Linked DNA regions of Homo sapiens: regions 1, 2, 3, 4, 5 and 7 are each linked to region 6. Evidence: promoter capture Hi-C in 16 types of primary human blood cells and fetal thymus (Javierre and others, 2016). All regions are on one chromosome and are shown on one strand. Each heading gives the region's core, a stretch centred on a gene start or on the middle of the fragment in contact. The rest is flanking DNA. Distances are from core to core; before and after follow the strand shown. Region 1 overlaps LINC02284 (long intergenic non-protein coding RNA 2284). Region 2 overlaps LINC02284 (long intergenic non-protein coding RNA 2284). Region 3 has its middle 100 kb from the start of TMEM260. Region 4 overlaps LINC02284 (long intergenic non-protein coding RNA 2284). Region 5 overlaps LINC02284 (long intergenic non-protein coding RNA 2284). Region 6 holds the start of KTN1-AS1 (KTN1 antisense RNA 1). Region 7 has its middle 120 kb from the start of TMEM260.

Region 1 (3,507 bases), core at 594-3,093, 800 kb before region 6:
TAACAGAGGATTTTATAATTCAGAGCGGAGTGGAAGATCTCTTTGGGAGCAGAGACAGTACTATTTTGGGATCCTATTTATTTTATAATTTTGCATGTAAAGAGCAGGCAGCCAGAAACACACATGATCTATTTTTTTTCCTCTATGTTCTTTCCTCCCAACAGAGTTCACATTAAAGCTAGAGAAATACTATTTTTTAAATCCCCAAGTGGTGGGCACAGCTAACAGGCAATGGAAAGCGGCATAAACACTCCTCACCCACCAATACATCCACAGGCCACATGGCATGTACACCTCACAACACACACTCTCCCACCCTCGAACTGTTTCATATTTCTTTTAAAAATGTACTTTTTTTCTCTCACACACATTCTCATGTTCTCTCACTCCCAACTTTGTAATGAAGCCCACTTTTTATTTAGTCAGGATCTTAAAGATCTTACCACAGACGATCAGATTTAATCATACAAGATGCCCCTAGTGAAGGATCTCTACAATAAAAGGTCTTGACACAAACAAAAATGAAGCAAGCTTCAGATTAGTCAGCCCCACTCTGCAGATGGTCTTTGTGGGCTTAATGAAAGTAGGTTCAGGCTGAAGACCCTGGATATACAAATTGACTAAACAAACATCAATTTGTCTACCAAAGTGCCTCTGAATCACAAATGAGTAAAATCGAGTTGTCTTGGAATCTGAGTTATTTGGCTTTAAACTTGGCTGGCAGTACCATTAACTATTGATCTGTTAATTTACAATGGTTTAGAACAAGACTTTGATGGAAGGTACTAGAGCTTTGACCATAAAGTCAATAAGTCTCTTATAAAACAACCTTACCCATGTATTATACATACACCCATCGGCAAGACTTCATCTGGGGCATTTCTCAGTCGGGCTTGAATTCACTGACTATTCATAATATTGAAAACCTCCTATTAAACCCAAGCCATTTAAATTTCTAATTATCTGACCATTATACATTACCTTAATACTGATGACTCAGTACTCTGTGCCTCTCTGATGTGCTAATAAAAAGGGAGGGTGATTCATTTTCATATGTTCCCTTTTCTAGGAAATGAATCAGAGACTTTTGCTGCAATGCCTGTGTTCAAAGTTTATTTCAAAACCAGAGTAATTGAAAAACATTTCTCTATTTGGAAAATCTAATGAAAACATTCTTATGCTAGAACGGAAACATAGATAAGCTTAACTGGGCAAGGGATGGGAGGACCACAGTGACTTGAAACTGGGAATGCCAGGAAAAAGCAGAGAGAAACGCATTATGTGTTCTGGGCAGCAGGTCCTCAGCAGGTATTTGTTCTTGCTCAACCCTTCCTTCATTTTCAGTCTTACTTTTCTTTTGCCCGCCAGACCTCTTGTCTCCTTGTTGAGAGAATGCCATCCAGGGTCTAGCTTTTTATAAGCAAAGAGTCCTGAAAGACTGACTTCCATCATTACCATATTTTGGACAGAAGCTGATTTCCCTGGGCTGAAGACATTTTGCAAGTTGGAGGAGTATTTGCATGACAAGCAACAGGAGTTTTTGGACATCTGGAGGCTTAGTTCCAACGTGACCTTAACTGTGCCCTCAATGCCACATTCATCTGCTCAGTCTAGTCTGCAAATGATCCTCTTCTGTGGACCACTGATCTTTCAAAAATCTTTTCAGATAGTTTATGAAAAGACAATGCAAATTATTAACAAAGATATGAATAAGCACGTGCTCTCATCGTAATTAAAGAACAGCAGGTTGAATCAAAATTAAGGTGTGTGTGTGTGTGTGTGTGTTTGAATTAATTTGAGAAAGATCTTTAATAATTACAACGCTAGTGTTCCAGTTAGAATGCTTCAGCTGCAATATCAACACCCAAAGCAAACTTCTAAAACAGTATGTATAATATATTATTTCACATACAAAGAAGTCCCAAGGAAGGACAGCTCCTGAGTTGGTTTAGGGTTCGACAGCATTATCAGTCTCTTATCCTCCACTGGTTTTATTCTCAGGCTGTCATAGTTCAAGGTGTATGTGCATACATAACAATGTTCTACACACAGAAGGAGACTGTTCTGGTCTATTTTTAAGAATGAAAAACATTTACCTAGTAAACGTCACAGTTCATCTCATTAGCCCCAGCTCGGTCACGTGCCCATCTCTAAACCAATCTCTAGTGAGAGAAATGAGATTAGCAAATTTGGCTTAGGCTGATAAGGATTTATTCTCAGAGGAAGCATGGACATCTGAAGAAATTAAGCCACTAGTAACAGGGAAAAGGGGGAAATAGTGACTCTTGGGTAGGTAACCTGTGGTGTCTGCTCTGGCTGCCAAGGATATAGTAAAATGGGCCACATGCAGCTGGTAGACATTCTGGAAAGTAATCTGGCACTATATACTAGGATACTTAAAAGCATCCATACACATTGACAAAGTAATTTGACTTCCAGAAATAAAGCCCATGGAAGGTGAACCTAAATGTAGATAAAGCTTTGTGCTTAGAGGAGTTCATTGTAGCACCTTTATAAGGGAAAGAAGGAAGGAAGGAAGGAAGGAGAAAGAGAGGGGGAAAGAAAGAAGGCAGGAAGAAAGAGGGAAGAATGGAGGTAAAGACAAAGAAAGAAGGAAGAGATAGAGGGAGGGAAAGAAAAGGAAGGAAGGAAGGAAAGGAAGGAAAAGAAGAAGGAAGGAAGGACTTAAGGATCTAATAATAAGTTACATAATTACAGTACATCTGTTTGATTAACTACTCTTTGGTATGTTATTTTTAATATATTTTTTTAGAGACAGGGTTTCACTATGTTGCCCAGGCTGGACTTGAACCCCTAGGCTTATGTGATCCTCCCGTGCAGCTGGAACTACAGCCGTGTGCCACTGCACGTGGCTTCTCTAGCATTTTAAAATGAGGTTTACAAAGAGTTTTTCAGAATGTGGCAAAATGCTCATATTATAGTGCTAAGCAAGAAAAGCAAGATGTAAAATTATATATATAAAACGCTATGTAAAATATTAATAGCAACTATCTTCTCAACATCTACCGTGAGCTGGGAACTTATACACTGTCTCTAACCTTGACAACAACCCTGAAATGTAGGTATTTTTATGCCTGGTTTGCAAATAAGGCAACTAAGGCTAAAAGATGTTCAGTAGGTTTCCAGAGGCACTCAGATATCAAATGGCAGAACAAGGATTTGAGTCTAGGCCTCTCTGGCTGTTTGGAACACAGTCTCACAGTTGAGGAGCAAACTTCTTTCTTTCCCCTTGGTTCTCTTCTCCCTTCTCTGCAGCTGATGGATATGAATAAAATATCCTCAAGTTCAGCTACATGAATATGTCTTGTTTAGGAAGTATAAACATTCACAAATATTTAGTGAAGTGCAATTGAATAAGGACAATGGGAAATTAGAGGGGCCAGGGGTGGGGCAAACAGATAGGAAAGTGAGAAGAAGGAAAGATACGTGACTGGAGTGACTACTGAGAACTCAGAAGTGACTCTCTGATGCCCTTTCAGCTGATTC
Region 2 (4,047 bases), core at 463-2,962, 780 kb before region 6:
ATTATACTTTGGATAAATGCTGGACTAGATATTCTTTGTTTTTTCCTCCCTAATTCTAAAATACATGATGTTATGAAAAATCATGTCCATCAATGTAAGACATCATATAATTGATCAGTTAAGAAAATCCATTTCCCAAGAAGAAAAGGGTCCCAAGAAGAGGGATTGGTGTTTCCTAAGTTATTAAGCTTGATGAAGAATATGGCAGAAAAAAGGGCCTGGAAGGACAAGGAGGCAGGAAGCGCTATGGAGGACTCTGTCAGGAGGAAAGTCAATAACTCTTCCAGGGTTTTCAAATTTACTTACATTTGGAGTGGCCAGAATGCTTCTGTGTGTGTTATTTTTTACCTTAGTTGTGAGCATAGGGGACCTGTATGTCTTCTTGGGGTGGCTGTTATCAGAGAAAGGAAGACTGTGTCTGATAGATTCAGAAGTTCTGCCACCAAGACGTTCACCCACAGAATAACACATGATGAGCAATGAATGAGACATCATTTAACATACTGCAGAAGCAGCACAGAGGATTGAAAGCTCTCCAAACAGAGAGGTGAAGCCCCATGCCTTCTCTCTGGAGGCAGCTGGGGGTACCTTCTTCACGCCTTGAAAATCCACCACAGGTATGTGGAGATCCAAGAATATCAGTAATTTCTAGAGACCAGAAAGAAAACTTTACAGGATGACCAATGTAAACTGATTGTAGTGGCATTTAGTGACATTTATTTCCTGTGAGCCACAAGAGCTCCATATTGGCAGATCTACACAACTGGAGTTATACAGAGAAACAAAAGCAAATCAAGGCAGAAGCTGACATGCAATTCCTACTGGAGTTTCTTCCCTTCTTTAGCGGTTGGTTAGTGGACACCCTACAGGAAAAGAGGAGCCACAGCCAGGATGGCTGTCATGGAGTAATTTTCACCTACTGAAGTATTAATACTTCTTATCTAAAGTAATTTTTTTTTTTGAGACCGAGTCTTGCTCTGTCACCCACGCTGGAGTACAGTGGCGTGATCTTGGCTCACCACAACCTCTGCCTCACGGGTTCAAGCGATTCTCCTGCCTCAGCCTCTCAAGTAGCTACAATTGTACTATATAGTTTCTCACTTATAAAATCTGGCCAGATAATCAGACACAATTACACTCTTCATTTGCTCGGTGGAGAGACCGCTTTTCTAGCATGCGGAGGGCCTCACTGAGCCTAACAGCACATCAGATACGGGCCACCCTCATGTGCTGCCTTGCACACACATATCCTTAAAGCGGGTCAGCAATTCCATAACAACATTAAAACAGCAACTGGGGAAGCAGAGCCCCACGGCTGAGAGGCACCCAACCAGATTGCAGTGCTATTTTTATCCCTCGAGCTGAGCGTATTGATGGAATGGAGAATTACTTTTGTGATTAAACGTGGCCAAAAACCTAGCAAGTGTTAATCTCTGGAAATCTGTTACAAATGGGATGGCAAGCACCAGCAAACTGCTGTTTTTTAAATCTAAAAATAGTTCTTGGTTCTCTTGTAAGTAATGCAGCAGGAAGACAAGAAATTTTAATCGGTCAGAGTGGTTTGGTTTTTACAGTCAATTCCTGAATATAATAGCAGGGATGGGTCTCTGGAGCCCCAAGTGAGAGGAGTCAGGTGCTGAGAGGATGGGCAGAGGCCCTGGAGAGTCTGCATTTACATCTCTTAGCTGTTCTGGCCTAGATAACACAGCTCTAGAACCAGAAATACTCCAACTCAACGTTTTGGGGGCATTTATGTGATTGCGCTGGGAGTAGGGTCATACATGGGCAAAATCAGGGTGGCGGATTCACTGACTGGGTACCGGTTTGAACCAGTGATGAATGCATTGGCCATATAAAGTTAGTATTGGCTCCATTTCCTCTAGCTGTGTCCCTTTGGAAATCTGGTCCTTTTTGTTCGGTCATGGAAGTGGAGTTTCCAGTTGGGGTTCATGAGGAGGTGGCTGGTGCCAAACCAGCTAAGGCATAGCAGCTCCGGACCCAGTGGTACAGCACGATTCTTCAGTCATACAAACCCAGCCCTTCACGAACACTTTTCAGAACACTCCCTCCAGGGCTCAGTCCCACATTGTCTAGTATTCATTCCCCGCCCCCTTTAAGGAGCCCAGCTACACTTTGGCTCAGCTTCCTCTTGCTTGGGTGGAGACCCTAGACCCTTTCATTTCCAGTGATGTTCTTAACTCCTCCCGCTTTTAACCTCACCCAGTGTGCCTGTTCCATATTCCAGGGCCTCTGTCCTATTTCCCCATCACACTCCAGTTCTGTGTCTGTGGCAGCCTCATGGGCTGGGGCAGAAACTTTGCCAGACTCCTCTCCCTGTAGCTTGCCCTGATCTCCTCTTTCCATCTCCCAACAGAAATCCTGCTTCAATCTGCATAGTCTCCTGAGACCTAAGGATGAGAACCTTCACTAGCTAGACCCTTTTGATGCCAGCCCCACCCTATCAGATCATGCTTGTGAGAAAGCATTATCTTTCCAGGATAGCACAGTGGTTAAAAGCATGGGATAGACATTTATCCTGTCTTTTCTGTATTGAATGTATTTTAGGATGTCTAACTAGTTGACAAGGGTAAGTTCTTCTTATGGAATTCTAGCTAATAAATGCATAAAGAATAGTGGAATTAGAAAATTCACACTTTGGAACACCCGGTAAAACAAGGGGTCTATTCTAGGCAATGATCAGTGACTGCTCAAAGCATTAGGTAAAATTGTGATGGGGAATTTTATAAAGGATGGATCAACTTGACAACCTGATTTGACTAATCCACCTTAAAGGCATTAATGGAAAGACAGCCAGATATTATGAGCCTTCTAAAGGGATTCAATGGAAATTTCATAGCCCTGCCATGAGGTAACCTTTTAAAAACTTAAATCTGAATCTAATCAAGTCTTCAGATGCAAATATTAGTTTACAAACTTATGGGGGATAGAGGAATATGTTAAATGACATTGTGTGGACTCAGACAAATAGAGATTGTGAGATTCTGCCACAGGATACATAAGCCAGTATTCAATAAAAAATGGCATTTAAAAAGGAAGAGTTACCTGTTATAAATATTTTTAAAAATCAAGACTGTACCAACCAAAAGAAACACAAAGCTGAAAGTGCTTTGTAAATGGCCAAGTTGTTAAACATTAGCTATTATTATTATAATGATTGCTCTATATCGTAGTCCCAGATCCTTAAGTCTAAGATATTCATTGTTAAGATAAGCTTCAGAAACTATCCACTTGATTTTCTAAACCTTGTGTCTCGAACATTTAAAGAAGCGTAGACACAGGATGTGAGGAAAACACAATTTTCTAATGAATACGAGGAAGCTATGACAAACAGCATAAATCATCAAGCAATGGCAAAACTGAAAGTCTAATCAGACATCAGTATCTTATTCTTAAACCTTCATACACTTTTTAGAAACCTTCTGATTGCAGGAAGCTTTGGCATGTTCACTTAAACATACTCATGTACTCACTTTAAACAGTATGATAATATTTCTATATGCACATATATACATTGACAACACTTGCTATTTGTTTATGTGTATATATATATACACATATATATACGTGTATGTATGTATGTGTGTGTATGTATATATATGTATATATATGTGTATATATGTATATATATGTATATATGTATATATATGTATATATGTATATATGTGTATATATGTATATATATGTATATATGTATATATATGTATATATATGTATATATGTATATATATGTATATATATGTATATATGTATATATATGTATATATGTATATATATGTATATATATATGTATATACCTTGTAGCCATGAATAAATAATCCTTTTAATTTTTCTCTCCCCCAGGTAAAATCTTATAAAGTAAAACATTGACTATTGGACACTCATGCGAAATAAATTCATCTGGATACATGAGGAATTCCAAATTAATCAAAATTTGACCTTTACAATTATCGGTTTTAGGTTTCGCTTTTCTGGATGGTAACCTTTCTGAAATGTGCTTCTCTCTTCTCTGCATCTTAAAAGAAGAAT
Region 3 (3,726 bases), core at 750-3,249, 900 kb before region 6:
TTCACTCTCTGGGGGAAGGGGTCAGGAAGACCTACCCCAAAGAGCTTGGGAAATTGACATGTCAGAATATACCTCCATTATTTTTAAATGGGAAAATTGAACTCCAGTCATTTGCCAAAAGGCAATGACTCTATCAGGACTCCTCCAATGTAATAGCTAATTGCTTCAAAATTCACTGTGCTCCTTTTCAAGTGTGAAGTCCAGGGAATGGACAGGATGCTGTAGTCCAGAAATGGACAGAAGATGTCATATGGTAAGATGTCAGAAAGATCTTCACGATTTTCTCTTTCGATGTGTTATGTCTCATCACACACAAAGTGTGAAAACACTTCCTAAATTAGACAAGTAACAATTTATATCAAGAAAAATATTGTCTTATCCTATAAAATGAATAAGTGGCAGGTAAGTATGGTTCAATATGTGTCTACTGATATTAATAATGTCCAGTTGAGTTGAAATATGTAGGAAAGTCTTTGAGGGAAGGAAATACTTTCCTGACTCTAAATGGCCTTTTGCTTGTCATATTTACTTGGATGTCCAACAGAGATTAACTCTTTATGTGGATGTGATGGTAGATTTCACTTTTAAATCAAACAATTAGCAAAAAAAAAAAAAAAAAAAAAAAAAACCATACAGGAATGGAGGCAAAAGCTTCCAAAGTCCAAACAAATGCCATGTAAACATTCCATGATCTACTTTTACTTTTAGATGGTAGATCATGTGTTGAGAATTTACATGAGTTAGCATCAGAAAGTATCACAAGCCCATTGTACACCATCTTTCCCAAGTTTCACAATACGTGGGAAATTAACATTTGGGTTGCCATTTTTTAAATTAAAAGTATGATGGCTTTTTGCTGACCCAGATGATCCCTTGTCTACTTTCATCAAAGGCACAGTGTGAGAGAGTAGAGATTTTACTATATTGTCTATTTCTCCAAAAAGGCCTCACCTAGCACTGGCCTTCTCATCAGGATGGGTTAGCTCCTTGCTAAATGTTAACTGCGGACCAGCAGAATCGACATCAGCTTCATCAGAGGAGCTTGTAAGAAATGCAGAACCTCATGGCACACTCCAGACTTATTGAATCAGAATCTACATTTTAACACGTTCTCCATGTGATTTATACGAACATTAATGTTTGAGAAGCACTGGGTTAATTGACGATTAAGAAATATAGTGCATCTGTTTGCCCTACTCTCCATCTGTTGCCCAACACACACACACACACACACACACACACACACACACACACATGCACACACACACTCTTTGGGTTTAAAATTAAAGAGCAGACTGGTCAAAATCATGCAAAATCATGAATTTGCAGGATTTAACTGCTGAATGCAATACTAAAAATCATGTAGTCACAACCCTTCAAATGGCAGAGATTAGTAAACATCTCCCACTATTCATTCTCCCCTTCTGCCCTGTAGTAATAGAACTCTCCAAGGTTTATCTGAGCACACCACACAACAAGACAGTGCATTTCCCTAGCTCCTTTACAGCTAAGAATCGCCATGCTATTAAATTTGAATCAATGAGATATGAGCACAAGAGACACATTCAACTTCCAGTCAGTTCCTCAGCAAAGTAGCAGCTTTTCACAAGCTTTCCTTTTTCTGATGGCTGGGAAGCAGCAACAGCTACAGTAGATACCTTGGGCTCAGAGATAGAAGTCACACACTGAGAATAACAGAGCTACTAGCCATCCCAGGTCAATAGATGACCTTCTGTAACAGAGCAGCCCAACTATCCCAGAATGCCAGATCAGCCTGGGACATGGAAGGGAAATTAAGCTCTCTCTCATCCTACCCATTGAAGTCACTGTGATTTTAAGTCTCTTGATGGCAGCTTAGCCTTTGTGCTCTGATTGATTACTTCACAAGTGAGGAACTGAGGCCCAGAAACTGTATGACTTATGGTGAAAATATCACTTACGAATGTAAAAATAAGCCAGTGGAAAATATTTAAAGATTTTTAGGCCAGGCATTGTGACTTACACCTATAATCCCAGCACTTTGGGAGGCCAAAGAAGAAGGATGACTTGGGGCCAGAAGTTCAAGTCTAGCCTAGGCAACATGGCAAGACCCCCCTCCATTGCTACAAAAAATAACAAATTAGCCAGGCATGGTGGTGCATGCCTGTACTCCCAGCTACTTGGGAGGCCAAGGCAGGAGGATTGCTTGAGCCCAGGAGGTCAAAGCTGAAGTGAACTATGATCACACCACTACACTCCAGCCTGGGTAACAGAACAAGAACTTGCCTCAAATAAATAAATAAATAAAATTAAAGATTTTTAAAAATGTATACTCAATTTTATAATGAAGACATTTTAAATGTTTTGAGGCCAGATGTGATAGAACACTGGCTTTCCTGACTAAGCTTCTTGGCTTGGAGGTTTTCTCTTAGCTACCTCTGAGGGATATGCATACTTGTTTATCACACAGCAGCTACTTGGATGAATGAATAAATAAAAGGATAAAGTGAACTCTGTTTTTACTAAACCACCAGGTTAAAAAAATTTTTTTGGCTTCTGCTTATTTTGAAGAATGTAATCTTAAAGTGCATCTTAAGTTGACCACTTGACCCATCTGCCACCATGAAACAAAGCGACAACCAATAAAGGGTTTCAAATAGGCACAGTTTTCATAGTTTTTTGAGTTTTCCTTTCGAGTAGATACATGGGTGGGTGGGGGGAGTAGTTATAGATCTATGTGTTTGCATTGGGTTAGGACTAGAGTTCAGCGTTATTTTTTTCCTCTTTGGTTTGTGGTCATGCCTTAATAGTCATTAAACCAAAGTCATAAAGACGGTTGAAGATACAGGACACGGTATTGCCAACATGAGGATAGTTTATTGGCTCCATGGTTCAGTCACTTTTGAATTCAGATAATGTTTGACCAGCAGACTTCTTAACAGATTTTCTAGAATCCTATTTCTATCATTACAAGTTAAATTGTCACTTTGCTATACAAAGATCCACACCTAGTCACCCAGTTATATTTATCCAATGATAAAAAAACAAAACGCGACTATATGAGATCATTTTAAAATAAAAAAGTAATGAAACACTAAACAATCACTCCAGGTTGTCTGTAACCATAATAATTCATCATAAGGTTGCCCCACAAGGAAGGATTGCATGCATAGACGTTTAAGCAATATGTAGACTTATAACTTTTATTTTTCTGTTTGCTAATAGTGCCTATAACTGAAACAATGAATTATAATATTGACAGGGACTCAATGAATCCAATACAAAGTTGTCTAAAACTATCAAAATGATATAAATTTAATGTAAACAGAACCACTTAAAATATTTTAAACACATGATAAAAGTCTGTAAACAATTCATATCTCTAGTTTAATTTTTGCATTAATAAGTCATATTCCCAAATCCAATTAAAGTCTCCTGTTTACAGAGTGGTTCTCAATCTTGGCTGCGTATTAAAATTATCCAGGGAGTGTTAAAGATCCCAAAGTTTAGGCCAAACTCAAGAAATTCCATCAGGATCTCTAGGGGGTGGGACCTCAACATCAGTATTTTCACCTTTGGTTGTAGTAGGGATGTTGATTGGGTCAACAGGTGTAAACTATTAACCAAGGGTGACAGATGTTCATTCAGAATAAAGGGACACCAGATGTTCACCAGGCATTGCTTTCCAAGAGCTATTATTTTCCATCTGAAACACATTTGCCTTCATCAGCTCTTTCATGTCTCTTT
Region 4 (3,543 bases), core at 780-3,279, 750 kb before region 6:
CATCCTATGGAGTGAGGATAACGTTCACTCCATAGGGTTATGGTGGGGATTGAATAAGGTAATATCCATAAACATAAAGAATAGAATTTGGCACGTGGTAAGCGCCATGTCAGTGCTTATTACTATATTTTCTTGCCACTCACTTCTTTTTTTTTTTCTGAGACGGAGTCTCACCCTGTCACCCAGGCTGGAGTGCAGTGGCGTGATGTTAGCTCACTGCAACCTCCACCTCCCGGATTCAAGCGATTCTCCTGCCTCAGTCTCCCAAGTAGCTGGGACTACAGGCATGTGCCACCACGCTTGGCTAATTTTTGTATTTTTAGTAGAGATGGGGTTTCACCATGTTAGCCAGGCTGGTCTCGAACTCCTGACCTCAAGTGATCCACTCACCTCAGTCTCCCAAAGTGCTGGGATTACAGGCGTGAGAAACTGCACTTGGCCTCCACTCACTTTTAAGGACAGCAGAGCAGAGGTCCAACTGCCAGGACAATAACTGGGCATTATCACCCCTTTGATAATAGGAAAGAATACACTTCCCTGTAACATCCTGACCACTTCTATCTGTGTCCCATAGAGAGAAAAATGACACTTATTTTACAAAAATTTTAACCCAGGGACAATATGTGAGACCCTGTGTGTACATTTTAAGCCCACAACTAAAGAACCACTCCTGGAAGTTTAAGCCTTGGTTTCGACTTCAAGCACATAGTGTGAGTGATACTATTTAGTTAGTACAAGATTCTCTCACCACCATTACTGGCTACCATTTATTCATCACCTACCACCTGCCAGGACTCTCTCTTTCATATAAGTACATCTAGCCCTCACAACAACCTTATAAGGTAAGTATTATTATTATTATTATTCCCATTTTATATTTAAAAGATGTGGGAACTTGGGGCCAGAAAGATAAGGTGATTTGCCTAAAGCCAAGTGGACTCAGAATTAGAATTTAAATTTAGGTCTGGTTAACTCTCAAGTCTATTCTTTTCCCACTGCGCCCACTCCTGTTTACTGTCATCTTTGTACAAAGAGGACTTGAGCCTTGGGGGCTTGCACTGCTGATTAACTAAACTGGCTAATGCCTACAGCTGCTGTGCTGAACTGTTCAGTGCTTCCCACATGTGTCCTGGGCTCCATGCCAGCCCTACAAACCCCCCTGCCTCCCGACACCCACACCCGCTCTTCAGACTCAGCATCTATGCTCCTGACCCTGGCCTGGGTTGGATCCTCCACCCTGCTCATGAAAAGAGTAGTGTGAAATTGACATCGAGACAATCAGATAAAGCTGGCTGGTTCTGGTCCTACCTGTCAGCTACCTCCTCCTCTGTTCCCACATCTGGCGACCTTCTGTTTCACCTCAACTCCTCTGTCCACTCTTTACCCACTTCCTGCTGAGTAGGCGTTGAGGTTATACAGGAGGTGATGGAGACCCCTGTCTCTTTTCCCTTCCCCCCTACCTGGCACTGGGCACGAGAATCCCTGATTACACTCCTGGAAGTGAGGGGGCACACACCTCCCTTGGGATGGAGAAGAGTGAACTGAGAGAGGTGCAGAGGCCTCACTCACGCTGAGTTGCTTTGGAACATCAGGCAGAAGGGGCTCACACTCCAAACCCACACTGAGATCACAGCATCTTCGTGAACTGATTTTAGGAGTTCTATTGCCCCACACCTCCCTGGCCCCCAAAGATTCAGATGTTGCAACCCTATCTCCCCATACATCAGAATGTGACCTTATTTGGGAACAGGGCAGATGTAATTGGTTAAGACGAGGTCATAGTGGAGTGGCCTTTAATTCAATATGACTTGTGTCCTTATAAAAAAGGGCAAATGGGCCGGGCACGGTGGCTCATGCTTGTAATCCCAGCACTTGGGGAGGCCGAGATGGGCGGATCACAAGGTCAGGAGATCAAGACAATCCTGGCTAACACGGTGAAACCCCGTCTCTACTAAAAATACAAAAAATTAGCCGGGTGGGTGCCTGTAATCCCAGCCATTGGGAGACTGAGGCAGGAGAATGGTGTGAACCTGGGAAGCGGAGCTTGCAGTGGGTGGAGATCACTCCACTGCACTCCAGCCTGGACGACAGAGCAAGACTCGGTCTCAAAAAAAGAAAAAAAGAAAGGGCAAATGGACACAGACATGCTCACAGAATGCCTTCATGTGAAGATGAAATATCTGGATGATGCATCTACAAGCCAAGGGATATCTGATTGCCAGCAAGCCACCAGAAGCTAGGAGAGGACATGGGACAGATGCCTCCTCATGGCCCTCAGAAGGAGCCAACCCTGTTGACGCCTTGAGTTGAATTTCTGGCCTCCAGAACTGGGAGAGAATAGCTTTCAGTTGTGTGAGCCACCCAGTTTGTGGTATTTGTTACGGCAACCCTAGGAATCTGCTAAGCTGGAGAGATGCTCAGAGGAGTCATGAAAGTGTCTCAGCTCTGGGGTGAGGTAGGGAGAAAATCGAGTCAAGGTTGTGGGAGTGGCTTCTGGATGGGCTGAGGGAGCCTGGTTCATGGACAGGCCCCAATCCCTAGCTGAGTTTCTTCAGAGAGAGTTCGAGACCAGAAACAGCTCGCCCTCATCAAATGCCCAATGCCACGGGCAGTCTCTGGTGCCTGCCTGGGGATATGGGAAAAAGCGAGATTTTAAGCCTGGCTCACCTTCATGGTAAGGAGTCATTACAGCTTTCATGGGCCTTAGGCGCTTTGGTTTTTCTGGGCTTCTTCCTGCATTTAAAAAAATAATTAAAATATTTTATGACTTCATTGGTGTAAAGACAAGTATAATCTATGCTGGACCAATCACTATATATTTGTTATTATTATATTCATTTTTCTTCTGATTTTAAAAGAAGCTAAAATTGAAACATTTTCTGTGGCCCCCTGAAAGTGGTGTGGGCTCAGCCGCTGCGCCTGCTGTGCCTATGGGATAAGTTGGCCCCACCCCACAGATAAAATGAGAGAACCATCAGGGATGCAAAAAAAAAAAAAAAAAAGACCTTTTCTGGATGGTACTGACACCAAGAAACTGAGTCTTAAAAAGGACTCCGAGCGAGTGTGTTATATTAAGCTCTTTCTCCATCCTTTAAAAGCTATGCAATTGCTACGCAGCTTGCATATCTGGTGTCAAAAGATCCATAGTTGCCTTTCATTTTTCCTTTACCTCAGGATGAACCAAAAAAATAAATACTTCCAGGTATCGATAGAGAACCTTGCTACATATTGGCTGTCATCACCTGCAAGCGTGTCCATAAATCCATACCCCTTCTGCTAGGGCAGCTGTTGTACATTGTCAGAACCCTGCATAAAACATCTCCCTATGTACTGTATTATTGGCCCTCCTGATTTACTGTATATACAGTCTGCAAGTTAAATACCAACAGAAGCACCCGAAAATATATTCTCTTGCAGCCTCTGTCTGAAAACTGCATTGCCCAAATAATGTCTGCTCATTCATCATTTACTTCCCAATATCTGAATGTCATTCTCTGAAATACATCTCTACAACAGTGCCCTGTGAAACACCAGCCCAGAGAA
Region 5 (3,738 bases), core at 40-2,539, 830 kb before region 6:
TGATTCCCTCTGGTGCAAAGAAGGAGCATAATAAGCAAGGCCCATTCCTTAGCAAAGAAAAGCAGTTGAATTCGGTGCAATGAAGACAAATTGGCCATAAACTCTGCAAGCCACGGAGGTTATTTCAGTTACTAAATGATTAAAGTCTCTAATCTCTGGAGTGGTGATAAAGAACACCGGAGAAGGGGGCTGGGTTTTTGATGCCTGGGGAAGGTGCAAAAACATCTCTCTTGAGACCATGCCAGAGGAAGCCCACCCCATAAAAGAACCACAGATAAGTAAGACATCATTAATAAATCAATGACAGGAAAATGAAAACGGAAGCAGATGAATCAGCCAGCAGATCGGGTTGTAGATGAAAAACAGCACATCTGTTGCTGCTGTCGGTGCATTAACAAATAAGTCTGCTGGATCAGATGGTCTTTCACGCTAATACTTGGAATAATGAAGCTTCAAAAGCGATTAAACCATAAATCAATTTTTAAATGTATCTTGTAACTCCCCCAAACAACAGGAGGCATATTTTTCCTTGCTTGAATTCTTTTTGGCAGGCATCGGAAGGTGCAGGGATAAAAAAACAGTGCCTCATTTTGGCTCTGCTGTGAGGTACAGGCACACAGCTAATTTAGTGTTTAGCCTCACGATTTGATTCTTACCAGCTAAAGGCACCGAGCTGTGCTTCATCTATATGTTAAATCCAAGCCAATGCATTTCAGCCTGAGCAGTACCCACCCGTCTTCTTGTCCAAGACAGCTCGGTTCTAGTGCCTGTTCCTCTTCATGCAGCTATTGATTTACATTTTATTTTGTTATTTTTGAAGACTTCAGCAAAATTAGCAATTGAGGTGGTGAAGTATTTTTCTCCTTTGAAGCATAACTCCTCCTTTTCTTCTATACTGAAAAAAAAGTTGCTTCTCTCTAATGGCAGAGTGGCCTGGTTGTAGGACATTAAGGATGGACATGAGTGGTTAATTTGGCAAATTCTACATCCATGTCCAAGAGGAAGAGATGTGCTCTCAACATAATTTTTTTACTTAAAAATGTTGGGACAATAAGGAAAGAGAAAAGGGAAAGGTTCAGGCTAAGAGAGGCAGACAAGGCCAGAAAGGACATAGGGTCACAGATCAGAAAAGGAAATCAAGTTTTGCTCCAAAATTTCTCTGAAAAGCAGAAAATCCTGTGAACTGACCAATAAATGAGTTCTTACTGAATAAGACAAATGGGGAAGAAATAGGAAGAAAGAAGGAAAAAGAAAGATGTGTAAGAAGATGAGTAGAAATGGTGAGAGGAGAACCCAGGATGAGGCAGAGGGAAACCAGGCCATATTTCCTCTCAGCGCACGGCCTTTGCTCCACATTACACCTCCTAACCAGCCCGGGGACAGTTGCACTCCAAGGAAGCAAACTGTTCCGTTCTTCTTCTTCTTCTCCTTGAAACACAATGGCTCTTTCAGGAAACAAACAAATAAACAAAAGCTAGGAAGAAACTATTTTGTTTACTTTGTCACAGAAAACAGGCTACCCTTGGGTCAGGAGATAGGGTATTCTGAGTTCATTTAGAATAGCCAGCAACACCCATGTTTGGTGAGAAGATGCCAAAAAATTATACCAAGTGGAAACTTTTATGTTAATTAATGAGTGACAATCAAATAAAATGATCAAGGCTCATACAAACATTTCCAGAAATAAGCACAAAGGTAGACAGAGGCTGTTTTTTTTTTTAATCATTGTAGGATCTGACAATATAAACTTTTCATATTAGATATTACCTATATACAGTTAGAATCCAAACCAATTGGAAGATTCCTTGGTCACCTGATAACTTCAAATGAAGATATCCAGAAAATTTAGGGACAGGTGATATCCTATAAACCAAGGTTTCTCAAACTTTTATGTGCCTACAACTATCTGAGGATCTTGTGGGAATTCAGATTCTAGGGAAACATTTCTGGAATGGTAGAGTAATGACCTCCAAAAATAGACTTTTCCATAAGAAGCAATAAACATCCTGGCAAAAATAGTCAAAATCAATTTTTTTCAGAATTGTGGAAATTAGCCAAAGGTATACAACACTCTGAGGTGCATTTCTTCAAGAAAAGCAGCTGACTATTGGTAAAAACAGCAAGCTTTGTGACATTCTAGCTTGCCCTATCCCCATTCCCTTCTCCACAGTTTCATAGTAGTCTCAAAAGTGAACAGCCTTACAGCCATGGTAACTGTAAAAACAGCAGCCTAGCAGTTACTGAAGGAAGAAGAATGGGTTTGGAGCTTAAGTCTAAAGACACTCAAGATTCAAAAACAAATAAGTGAAAGGAAGGAAGAAGATCTGCTATGCAAACAGTAACCTAAAAAGAGCTGGAGTGGCTATAATATTAACAGAAAAATCGACTTTAAGACCATTGTTACTAGAGATAAAAAGAACATTTTATAATCACAGAATGACCATTCCATCAGGAAAACATAACAATTACAAACATGTATGTCCCTAATAACAGAGGCCCAAAATACATGAATGATTAATAGAATTGAGGAAGAATTAGATTCAGCAGTAATAGTTGTAAATTTCAATATCCCACTTTTAATAAGGGATAGGCTGACAAGGCAGAAGATCAACAAGGTAATGGAAGACTTGAACAACACTATAAAACAGCTAAACATAACAGAAATCTATAGCACACTCCACCAAACAACAGAACACACGTTGCATCAAGCAAACACTCAGCATTCCCCAAAATAGAACACACGTTAGGCTATAGAAAGAAGTCTCAATAATGTTAAAGAGATGAAAATCATAGAATCTTCTATGACACAATGGAATGAAATTAGAAATCAGTAATGGAAAGAAATTTCAGGAATTCACAAACGTGAAAATTAAAAGACACACTTCTAAATAACCAATGAGTTAAAGAAGGAATCACAAGGGAAAGGAAATAATACTTTGAGATGAAAAAAAGAAAACCACAACATATCAAAACTTATGGAAGGCTGCTTGCCTTAGTCCATTTTGGTTGCTATAACACAATACCACAAATTGGGCAGATTTTAAGCAACAGAAATTTATTTCCCACAGTTCTGGAGCCAAAACAATCTTGAAAAAAAAAATAGGAGGATTCATACTTCCCAATTTTGAAACCTATGACAAAGATCCAATAATTAAGACAGTATGGTACTGGCATGAAGATAGACTTATAGATCATTGAAATAGAATTGAAAGTGCACAAAGAAGCTGTTAATTAATGGCCAATTGAATTGTGACCGAAGTGTCAGAGCAATTCAATGAGGGGACGAACAATCTTTTCAACAAATGGCGCTAGAACAACTGGATAGCCACAGGCAAAAGAAAGAAGTTGGTCCCTTTCATCATGCCATATATAAAAACTAACTCAAAATAGATCAAAGACAAAAATGGAAATACTAAAACTACAAAAGTTTTTTTTAACTATTAGTTTCAGGGGTACATGTATAGATTTGTTATATAGGTAAATTGCATATCATGGGCACTTGGTGTACAGATTACTCATCACCCAGGTAATATGCATAGTATCTGATATGTATACCCTCACCCTCCTCCCACCCTTCATCCTCAAGTAGGCTCCAGTGTCTGTCATTCCCTTGTTTGTGTCCCTGTGTACTCAATATTTAGCTCCTATTTATAAGTGAGAGCATGCAGTATTTGGTTTTCTGCTCCTGCATTAGTTAGCTTAGGACAATGGCCACCAGCTTCATCCATGTTGCTGCAA
Region 6 (4,010 bases), core at 762-3,261:
CAAATTCATTATCAGCCTCAAGTAAATCAAGTAGAACACCTTATTCTCTAAGCTCACTTGATAAGGTATTGTTATGTCTGATGAAGGCTACAAAATTAGAAGAGACATTTGAAACTCAATGTTGGGGTGGGAGGGAAACTCATGAACAGACCCAGCTATTTCAGGTTAGATCCTTAAACTAAAAAAAAAGGAAAAAGGAAAAAAAAAAAGAGCCTTTTTTATCAGGCAGCACATCAAATATGAAAGTCTACTGCAAGGCATGTCTACCCAAAATACTCAAGAGTAATTTAGTGTTATTCTTGGGATCATTATCCCAAGTCTCACCAGCTTGGGATCATTATCCCAAGTCTCACCAGCAATTGCTTCGGACCAAACTGGAGACACTGTTGCCATTAGCCTGCTAGGTAAGCTAAGGAAAACAAATGCAACCTAATTTAGCAAAAATTCTAACTTTAAGTCAACTCCTATACAATTCAGAACCTTTAGTTCACCGAAGATGCTTATCTTTAGCTGGGCTGGCCATGAGTGTCTACATTTCTCAAGGCTTTCCACAAAGTCATCACACACACACACACCTTAACAGTTAACTTCAACCGTAGCTCTTTACTCAAGGCTTTCCACAAAGTCATCACACACACACACTCACACACACACACACACCTTAACAGTTAACTTCAACCGTAGCTCTTTAAGCACTACTAACTTAAATAGCGGCTAAGGAATCCGTTTGCCAACACAGTTCTGAATTTAGATTCCTCCTTCCTCCCACAGGAAAGAAGGGCCAACACTGAACAGCTTACTTTCAACCTAACCTAGTCAAGGTGCAACTGGGGCCGGCTGGGACGCCGCTGCCCGCGTCCGGGGCTGCCCACATCTAGTGCACCCAGCGCCTTCACCGCCAGCATGCGGGGCTGCACATCCCACACCAGACGTATGGCTGAGAGCCAGACGACTTCTCTAGACTTCCCGCGTAGTTTTCCGGCGAGGTCCCCAAGGCCAAAAATCTCACTTTTGGAAACTGAAGGGGTCAGGCCGAATCGCTAGGACACACCCCTCGGGGACAGGAAGGGATAACTTCGCCGGTGTCGAGAGTGGTCCATGGATTTTTCCAAAGTCCCCCCTCATGCTGCTTTCCGTGCCCAACCGCCTCCCGCCCTGACCTGGGGACTCGCAAAGGGCAGCGGGAGGGGCGCCGGGGAAGGGGGCGAGCGCCCAGACCGCCGGAGGCAGCGGCGAGGACTGGAACTCCAGCATGGCGTAAGTGTGGCCCAGCTCCGGCCCGGGGACGCCGCCGGAGACGCGCTGCCTCCGTCCACCGGCCGAGGAGGCGGTAATCCGCCTTCCCTCCCGGGGGCCCTCAGGCTTGGCTAAAAATAGGTGCCTCGGTCACCCCAGGGCCCGCTCGGGTCGACCTCGCCTTCGGGAGAGTCGTCCTTGGGGAGGGTGGGGGGTGTCCCTCGGCCGCGCCCCGGGTGCCGCGACAGAGCCGGGGTCGGGCCCAGAGCGGCCCCGCGAGGCCGAGGAGGTCCCTCCGAGCCCGCCCCCTGCGGCGTCCCGGCCCCAACAAGAGCCCCGCGGCGGCAACCGGATGCCCGAGGCCTACCCAGCGGGCGGCGTCCGGGCCCCGCGGCCGCGCCCCCCCGCCCGGCGCGGCCCTCCCGCCTGCCCCAGGACCCCGCGGCCGGCGCCGCCTCCCCCCGCGCTCCCCGCCGCCGGCGCCCGTCCCGGTGCGGCCTGCTCTCCCTCACCCTGTGCGGCCGGGAAAGGAGACCGGGAAGACGCGGCGGCGCCGGCACTACAGCCCGGGCCGCCCGCTCCGAGGCGCCGCCGCCGCCGCCGCCGCCGCCGCAGTCGCTCAGGTGCCGTCGCGCCGCTCGGCAGGAAACGGGCGGCTTCGGGGCGGGGCGGGGCGGACCCGGCACGTCCTGGCGTCTGGGCCGGCGGCGCCGGGAGACCGGCCCCTTAAAGGGACAGCCGCCGGCCCGCCTCTGCCTCCGCGCGCCTGCCCACGCGCTCCGGTACTCGCTGCTCGCGGCTGGCCGGCTCGGGATTCCGGGCTTTCTTCCCGAGACCGCGTCCCCCAGCTGGGCCGAAGGTGGACGCTCAGGGGCTGGAGGCTCAGCGGAATCCCCTGCGTTCAGTAGCCCCGCTCTCCCCTGTCCCGAAGGTTGGTCTCGTCTCGCGCGGCCCTCCCTCCAGGGCACCACCTGGCTCCCCACGCCTTTTAACTTCAGCAAACGGCACTAGATTTACCCCCTGACTATCCCAGATTTCCCCCAGAAATTACTGGAAAACGACATCCCCCGTCCCTTTCTCCAGGGGATCTCTCTGAAATCTCCTTCGGGCAACGCTAGCTACAAACGGAGAAAGAAATTAGAAAGCGACCCAAATAATGGTCGGGCGCGGTGGTTCACGCCTGTAACCCCAGTACTTTGGGAGGCCAAGGCAGGCGGATCACCTGAGGTCAGGAGTTCGAGACCAGCCTGGCCAACATATAGTAAAACCCGTCTCTGCCAAAAAAAGTACAAAAAATTAGCTGGGCATAGTGGCGCACGCCTGTAGCCCCAGCTACTTGGGAAGCTGAGACAGGAGAATCGCAGGAATCTAGGAGGCGGAGGTTGCAGTGAGCCGAGATCTCGCCACTGCACTCCAGCCTGGGCGAGAGAGTAAGACTCTCCGTTTCTCTCAAAAAAAAAAAAAAAAAAAGGAAAGAAAAGAAAGCGACCCAAATGAGTTGTGTGCAAACATTATGAAAGTGTTGTGACTGCCAGCTGGTAGCCATTTATGAAGCCGGGGTAAAAATCTAGAAACTGCTGCGCGAGGAGGGATGGGCCCGGATCTCTCCTTATTCGTTTGCTCTTTGCTGAAAGGATGGCAGCGATCCTCCCCGTCCACTGGCAAGTGAGTTTCGTGTGGATTGTTTACCGATGATCAATCTCTCACAGGAGGCCAGGCACTGCCCCACTACATGTACAAAACACTCCAAGCTGTCCGCAAATGTTATGAAGGCTTAAAATAATCCTAACGATTCCAGACTGTGGATAGAGATAGAAAAAATTAGGACTCACCACCACCACCTCGCCCTACATCTGACAAAGTGGGAACAGAAGCAGTTAAGGAATGAACAGCAGAACCGTTTCTACACCAACAGAATTTCCTGTACATGGGCTGGTTAAAAGTATCCATACTTTTTATTCTAATCATTTCTAAGTTTTCTAGAGCACCTCCAAAATACAAATGAAAACTGCGCAGTGTATAGTGGCCTGAGATATTGAGAATTCTGCCAGTCTTCAGTCACCGTGTTCTCCACAGATGCATTGTCTTATTTTAACTCCAGAGGCGTCCTCTTTTTTCTTTCTCATTAGGATTACTCTGCCCCTCAGCGGTTCCAGTGCCCTCAAAGCAATCTGTCTCTGAAGTACTGGCTATCTTCTGAGCGTGTGCCAGAAGATCCAGCTTTGTTGAAAAGCGAAGCCGTTAGTCCCTTAATACAAAGGGTAAGTGTATCATTTATGTAATGGAGTTTAAGGGCTCTTGATTAGCTTACAAACAACCATGTTATTTCCTCAGGTTAGTACTAACGCAGGTTTTAGGTTAGAATTAAAAATTTATATCATTCATTTTCCTGACCAGTAAAACCGCAATGTCATTTACAGGCAATAATATTTCGGTGCACTTGTAAGTAAGACAATGAGTGGAGTTTAGGATTTTCTCAAAACATACTACTGCTTATACTAAAGGATGACTTTGTATCACCTATTTCGGCTTTTCTGGCGTTTGAACTTTGACTATAGAAAGGGAAGTGGTTGAATGCTTTATTTTTTATAAGCTTTCTATTTATTCACATCAAAACAAAAAGATTTACTAGAGGCCGGGCGCAGTGGCTGACACCTGTAATCCCAGCACTTTGGGAGGCCGAGCTGGGTGGATCACCTGAGGTCGGGAGTTCGAGACCACCATGGCCAACATGGTGAAACCCCAGCTCTACTAAAAATACAAAACTTAGCTGG
Region 7 (4,005 bases), core at 1,464-3,963, 880 kb before region 6:
CAGAGATACATAGACTCACTTATTTTCTCTCCATTAATTTTGACATATTCAACTAAAGCTATAAAACCGTAAGAATAGTTGACACTTAGTTCTTTCAGGTGATAGGCATTACTTTAAATGTGTTAAAGGGAGGAAGGCATAAAACATATCAGGAGAAGGAGAAGGCAGTCTCCCGACTGCCTATCTTCTGATGGTCTGTTGAGCACTATACAGCAAATCCACAGTCCTGAATTAGCAACTGACTTCTACACTTGTGCACGTGAGCTGTGCCCACTTCCGTGACTGCCTGAATGCTTCCCAGCAGACCCCCCATGGATACTGCTCTGTGACATGAATGGGATATTTCTACCAGTTCCTACTTATTAGCACTACAGGAAAGAGATTTTTTTGAGATAAGGAAACATAGGCAAGAGTTAGCTGTGCTTTGGAAACATTTATATAACAAATAACCTAAGTGTTCATCTGCAGCCTCCTAGCTCTGTGCCAGTGTTCCAAATTCCAGCTCTAATCCTACAGAATTCCCACTGCTCTCCTTTGGCTGAGCTATTGTGGAAATTCTTTCTGCAACTGTTGAGGAGGCCAATCAGAGTCAGAGAAAAGATGGCACTGAGCTACTGCATATCCAATACATAATATCCACAATCACTGAGAATAAGTAGAATAGGAAAAATCTGAAATCTACTGATAATCTCTAACCTTGAATATTGATTAGGTTGTAGGAAACCTCACAATCCAATAGGACCTTGGATTGGACCAGTAATCAGCAATATTTATAAATTTAAATTTATTCTCCTTTTATTTCCCTTGCCTATTCTTGTTGAGGAACAATATGGGAAAAAGGCCAAAGAGTAATTGGGGGATGGGAGGAGCAGTAAATACCACTGAGTTTTATAAGATTGCATGATGTGTCTATTTATATGATGTGAAATACACCGGCATCATGCAGGAAACACTGCTTTTATTTTTTATTTATTTTTTGAGACAGAGTCCCACTCTGTCACCAGACTGCAGTACAGTGGCGTGATCTCAGCTCACTGCAACCCCCGCCTCCTCCCAGGTTCAAGTGATTCTCCTGCCTCAGCCTCTCCAGTAGCTGGGATTACAGGCACGTGCCACCACACCCAGCTAATTTTTGTGTTTTTAGTAGAGACGAGGTTTCACCATGTTGGCCAGGATGACCTCGATCTCTTGACCTCGTGATATGTGCACCTCAGCCTCCCAAAGTGCTGGGATTACAGGTGTGAGCCACCGCACCCAGCCGAAACACTGCTTTTTTGTGTTTTTAAAATTGTGGCAAAATATACATAAAATTTACCATTTTAACCATTAGGTGTACAGTTCAATGTACAACATCATTTACAATAATGTGCAACCATCAGCACCAAACATCTCCAGAACTCTTTCATCATCCTAAACAAAAACTCTGAACCCATTAAACAATAATTCTTTATTTCCCCTTCCCTCAGTCCCTGTCCACTATTTTTCTTTCTGCCACTATGAATTTGTGTACTACAGGTACCTCCTACAATCGTACAATATTTGTCTTGTGGTGTCTGGCTTATTTCACTTAGCTTAATGTTTTCAAAGTTCAACACTGCTTTTTTTTTTTTTTAAACAAAATTACTTTCAATACTTTATTTTTGAGCCTTGTAGAAAGAACAACTTAATAGTATCTTGTGATATGATTTAATGTACCTCAAACTCAAAATCCCCAGTTTTGCCTTATAAAACAGCTGGCAGTTGGACTCCGATTACTTTTTTATTTTAAGTTAGCTATTGGCTCTGTAAAATATGAATGGGAAAAAAAGCAGTAATAATCTTCACCAAGTGATTCATCTCAGCTGAGTATGACTTGCAATTCAATAATGAAATGAAATCTGCCCCTTGTACCTAGACTGAAAAAGACGAACAACAGTATGTTCTGTTCATTGCTCCTTCCTGCGAGCCATGGAGAGACGGGACCATGACTGATGCCGCTTGTTAGAGGATAATGAAATGCAACTGGTGTCCAGCAGACCTAGCAGAAATACTCCTAGGCACAAGAAAAATATGCCCAGATGGTATTCTCCATTTTTCAAACTAAAACAGCTAACTGCCTCTCCACTTTGTGCCCAGAATGCCGCCTCTTTTAGAGAGAGGTTCAAGCACTGAGTTCTGTGTTCAATGAACCAGGGTACATACTAACCAGTCAATCAGAGCTGCTTTCATCCCAGCTCTGCCTTCATGACACAGTGCCTTAGATACTAATGCGGGAGAGGGGAATGAATGAACCAGAACAATATAATGAGAAAATAAAATCAAATGTGATTACAGTGACCCCCAACCTAGTTTCTCTTAGCTGTACTCCAATTACATTCAGTAGCTCCCAGGTGTACAGCAAAAACTGTAACAAAATAGTAAATTCTTCTTAGGATAAGACTCTCATAAGCCTCTCCAGTTGTATCCAAACTCATGCCATCAAATGAAAGCCTCAAATTGTGTGATATTTAAAACACAAATACACATGCAAGACCAAACTGAGATACAGTGAAAAGCATAAATTAGCAGCAGCTGCAGCCCAATTAGGCAAAGATTTCCACGAGGGAAAGCTTACTTGTAATTTACCTAAACAAAGCCTTTCTTTTTGTTGAGATTTGCTGCTTATTATTTTTTCTTATTAAAATGACTACAAAGAGTAACCAAGAGCATCATTATATCAGGAAAAGAAATTCTTCCAATCTAAACAATTTTTTGAAAGGATATTTTTAGTTGCATGTTTGTGTTTGTAACATTTTAAAAAAAATTGACAATTTTTAAAAATCAAAGATACACATGCACTGTTAAATGTGTCAAAGCTTATGATAAAACACAGTAATTTCAAGCTCAATTTAGTCATTTCACAATGTATACAATATCTCAAAACAACATTGTTGTACACAATAAATATATATATTTGTAAATTAAAAAATAAATTTAAAAAACCCCAGTAATTTCTAGCTCCAATCCTCATCACCTTCTCAGAGGCCACAATTTTCAAATCTTTTAGCTATTTCTTCTGGTATCTCTATATTTCTAGATAATATGCTTCTACTGTGATTTCAGGATTTATGCATTTTTTATGTATCTGTTGACTTCCTATGATAAAGATTTACCACTACCAATCTCCCTTTCCTCCATAATTCCAAATATAATTACAGCTATGAGAGGGGGTAGGTGAGGATAAAGACAGTATGTGGTCATGCTCTACCACATATTGTGAAGTGCACGCATATATACAATATAAACATATATTATTATGTATAATATAAATAAAATTATATATAATTTGTTTTATATAAATTAATAGAATATTTTATTATATATAAATATATAATATAAATAAAGTATTATTTTATTCCTGGTGTATATATGTATTTAGTTGAATGGGGATAATCCCAGTACCTATTTATTTTGTGTGCATTTTTTAAAAATTATACTTTAAGTTCTAGGGTACATGTGCACAACGTGTAGCTTTGTTACATATGTATACCTGTGCCATGTTGGGGTGCTGCACCCATTAATTCATCATTTACATTAGGTATATCTCCTAATGCTATCCCTCCCCCCTGCCCCCACCCCACAACAGGCCCCGGTGTGTGATGTACCCCACCCTATGTCCAAGTATTCTCATTGTTCAGTTCCCACCTATGAGTGAGAACATGCGGTGTTTGGTTTTCTGTCCTTGCAATAGTTTGCTGAGAATGATGGTTTCCAGCTTCATCCATGTCCCTACAAAGGACATGAACTCATCCTTTTTTATGGCTGCACAGTATTCCATGGTGTATATGTGCCACATTTTCTTAATCTAGTCTATCATTGACGGACATTTGGATTGGTTCCAAGTCTTCGCTATTGTGAATAGTGCTGCAATTAACATACATGTGCATGTGTCTTTACAGCAGCATGATTTATACTCCTTTGGGTATATACCCAGTAATGGGATGACTGGGTCAAATATTATTTCTAGTTCTAGATCCTTGAGGAATT

What was found. Contacts are between HindIII fragments. The CHiCAGO score rates a contact against its expected background, and 5 or more counts as called.
Region 1: a contact is called between a fragment that was not itself captured here and the fragment with the promoter of KTN1-AS1 in region 6, in 1 of 17 cell types (monocytes). The highest score is 5.1, in monocytes.
Region 2: a contact is called between a fragment that was not itself captured here and the fragment with the promoter of KTN1-AS1 in region 6, in 1 of 17 cell types (fetal thymus). The highest score is 6.2, in fetal thymus.
Region 3: a fragment that was not itself captured here is called in contact with the fragment with the promoter of KTN1-AS1 in region 6 in 6 of 17 cell types (endothelial precursors, neutrophils, M0 macrophages and 3 more); the score reaches 9.6 in endothelial precursors.
Region 4: a fragment that was not itself captured here is called in contact with the fragment with the promoter of KTN1-AS1 in region 6 in 1 of 17 cell types (neutrophils); the score reaches 5.0 in neutrophils.
Region 5: a contact is called between a fragment that was not itself captured here and the fragment with the promoter of KTN1-AS1 in region 6, in 1 of 17 cell types (fetal thymus). The highest score is 6.0, in fetal thymus.
Region 7: a contact is called between a fragment that was not itself captured here and the fragment with the promoter of KTN1-AS1 in region 6, in 1 of 17 cell types (megakaryocytes). The highest score is 5.5, in megakaryocytes.

Annotation. Positions count from the first base shown.
Region 1 is chr14:56,376,286-56,379,792 of GRCh38, reverse strand. All of the region lies in intron 6 of LINC02284 (long intergenic non-protein coding RNA 2284), which reads right to left. Among named protein-coding and RNA genes, the nearest start is that of LINC02284, 67 kb to the right of the region's middle. The HindIII fragment of the contact is 1,277 bases long and covers 1,205-2,481 here.
Region 2 is chr14:56,354,903-56,358,949 of GRCh38, reverse strand. The region is part of intron 6 of LINC02284 (long intergenic non-protein coding RNA 2284); the gene reads right to left. Among named protein-coding and RNA genes, the nearest start is that of LINC02284, 46 kb to the right of the region's middle. The HindIII fragment of the contact is 3,044 bases long and covers 191-3,234 here.
Region 3 is chr14:56,477,203-56,480,928 of GRCh38, reverse strand. No RefSeq gene overlaps it. Among named protein-coding and RNA genes, the nearest start is that of TMEM260, 100 kb to the left of the region's middle. The HindIII fragment of the contact is 774 bases long and covers 1,613-2,386 here.
Region 4 is chr14:56,329,612-56,333,154 of GRCh38, reverse strand. It overlaps LINC02284 (long intergenic non-protein coding RNA 2284), which reads right to left. Exons shown (of 7, transcript NR_187174.1): 5 at 2,668-2,733. Among named protein-coding and RNA genes, the nearest start is that of LINC02284, 20 kb to the right of the region's middle. The HindIII fragment of the contact is 5,943 bases long and covers 1-3,543 here.
Region 5 is chr14:56,409,450-56,413,187 of GRCh38, reverse strand. All of the region lies in intron 6 of LINC02284 (long intergenic non-protein coding RNA 2284), which reads right to left. Among named protein-coding and RNA genes, the nearest start is that of LINC02284, 100 kb to the right of the region's middle. The HindIII fragment of the contact is 1,674 bases long and covers 453-2,126 here.
Region 6 is chr14:55,578,093-55,582,102 of GRCh38, reverse strand. KTN1-AS1 (KTN1 antisense RNA 1) reads left to right here and starts at 2,011. Exons shown (of 3, transcript NR_027123.1): 1 at 2,011-2,167; 2 at 3,366-3,497. It overlaps KTN1 (kinectin 1), which reads right to left and starts at 1,896. Exons shown (of 44, transcript NM_001079521.2): 1 at 1,749-1,896. RefSeq lists silencers at 578-872, 1,052-1,691, 1,752-2,011 and enhancers at 2,452-2,541, 2,552-2,671. The HindIII fragment of the contact is 5,026 bases long and covers 1-3,831 here.
Region 7 is chr14:56,459,988-56,463,992 of GRCh38, reverse strand. No RefSeq gene overlaps it. Among named protein-coding and RNA genes, the nearest start is that of TMEM260, 120 kb to the left of the region's middle. The HindIII fragment of the contact is 246 bases long and covers 2,591-2,836 here.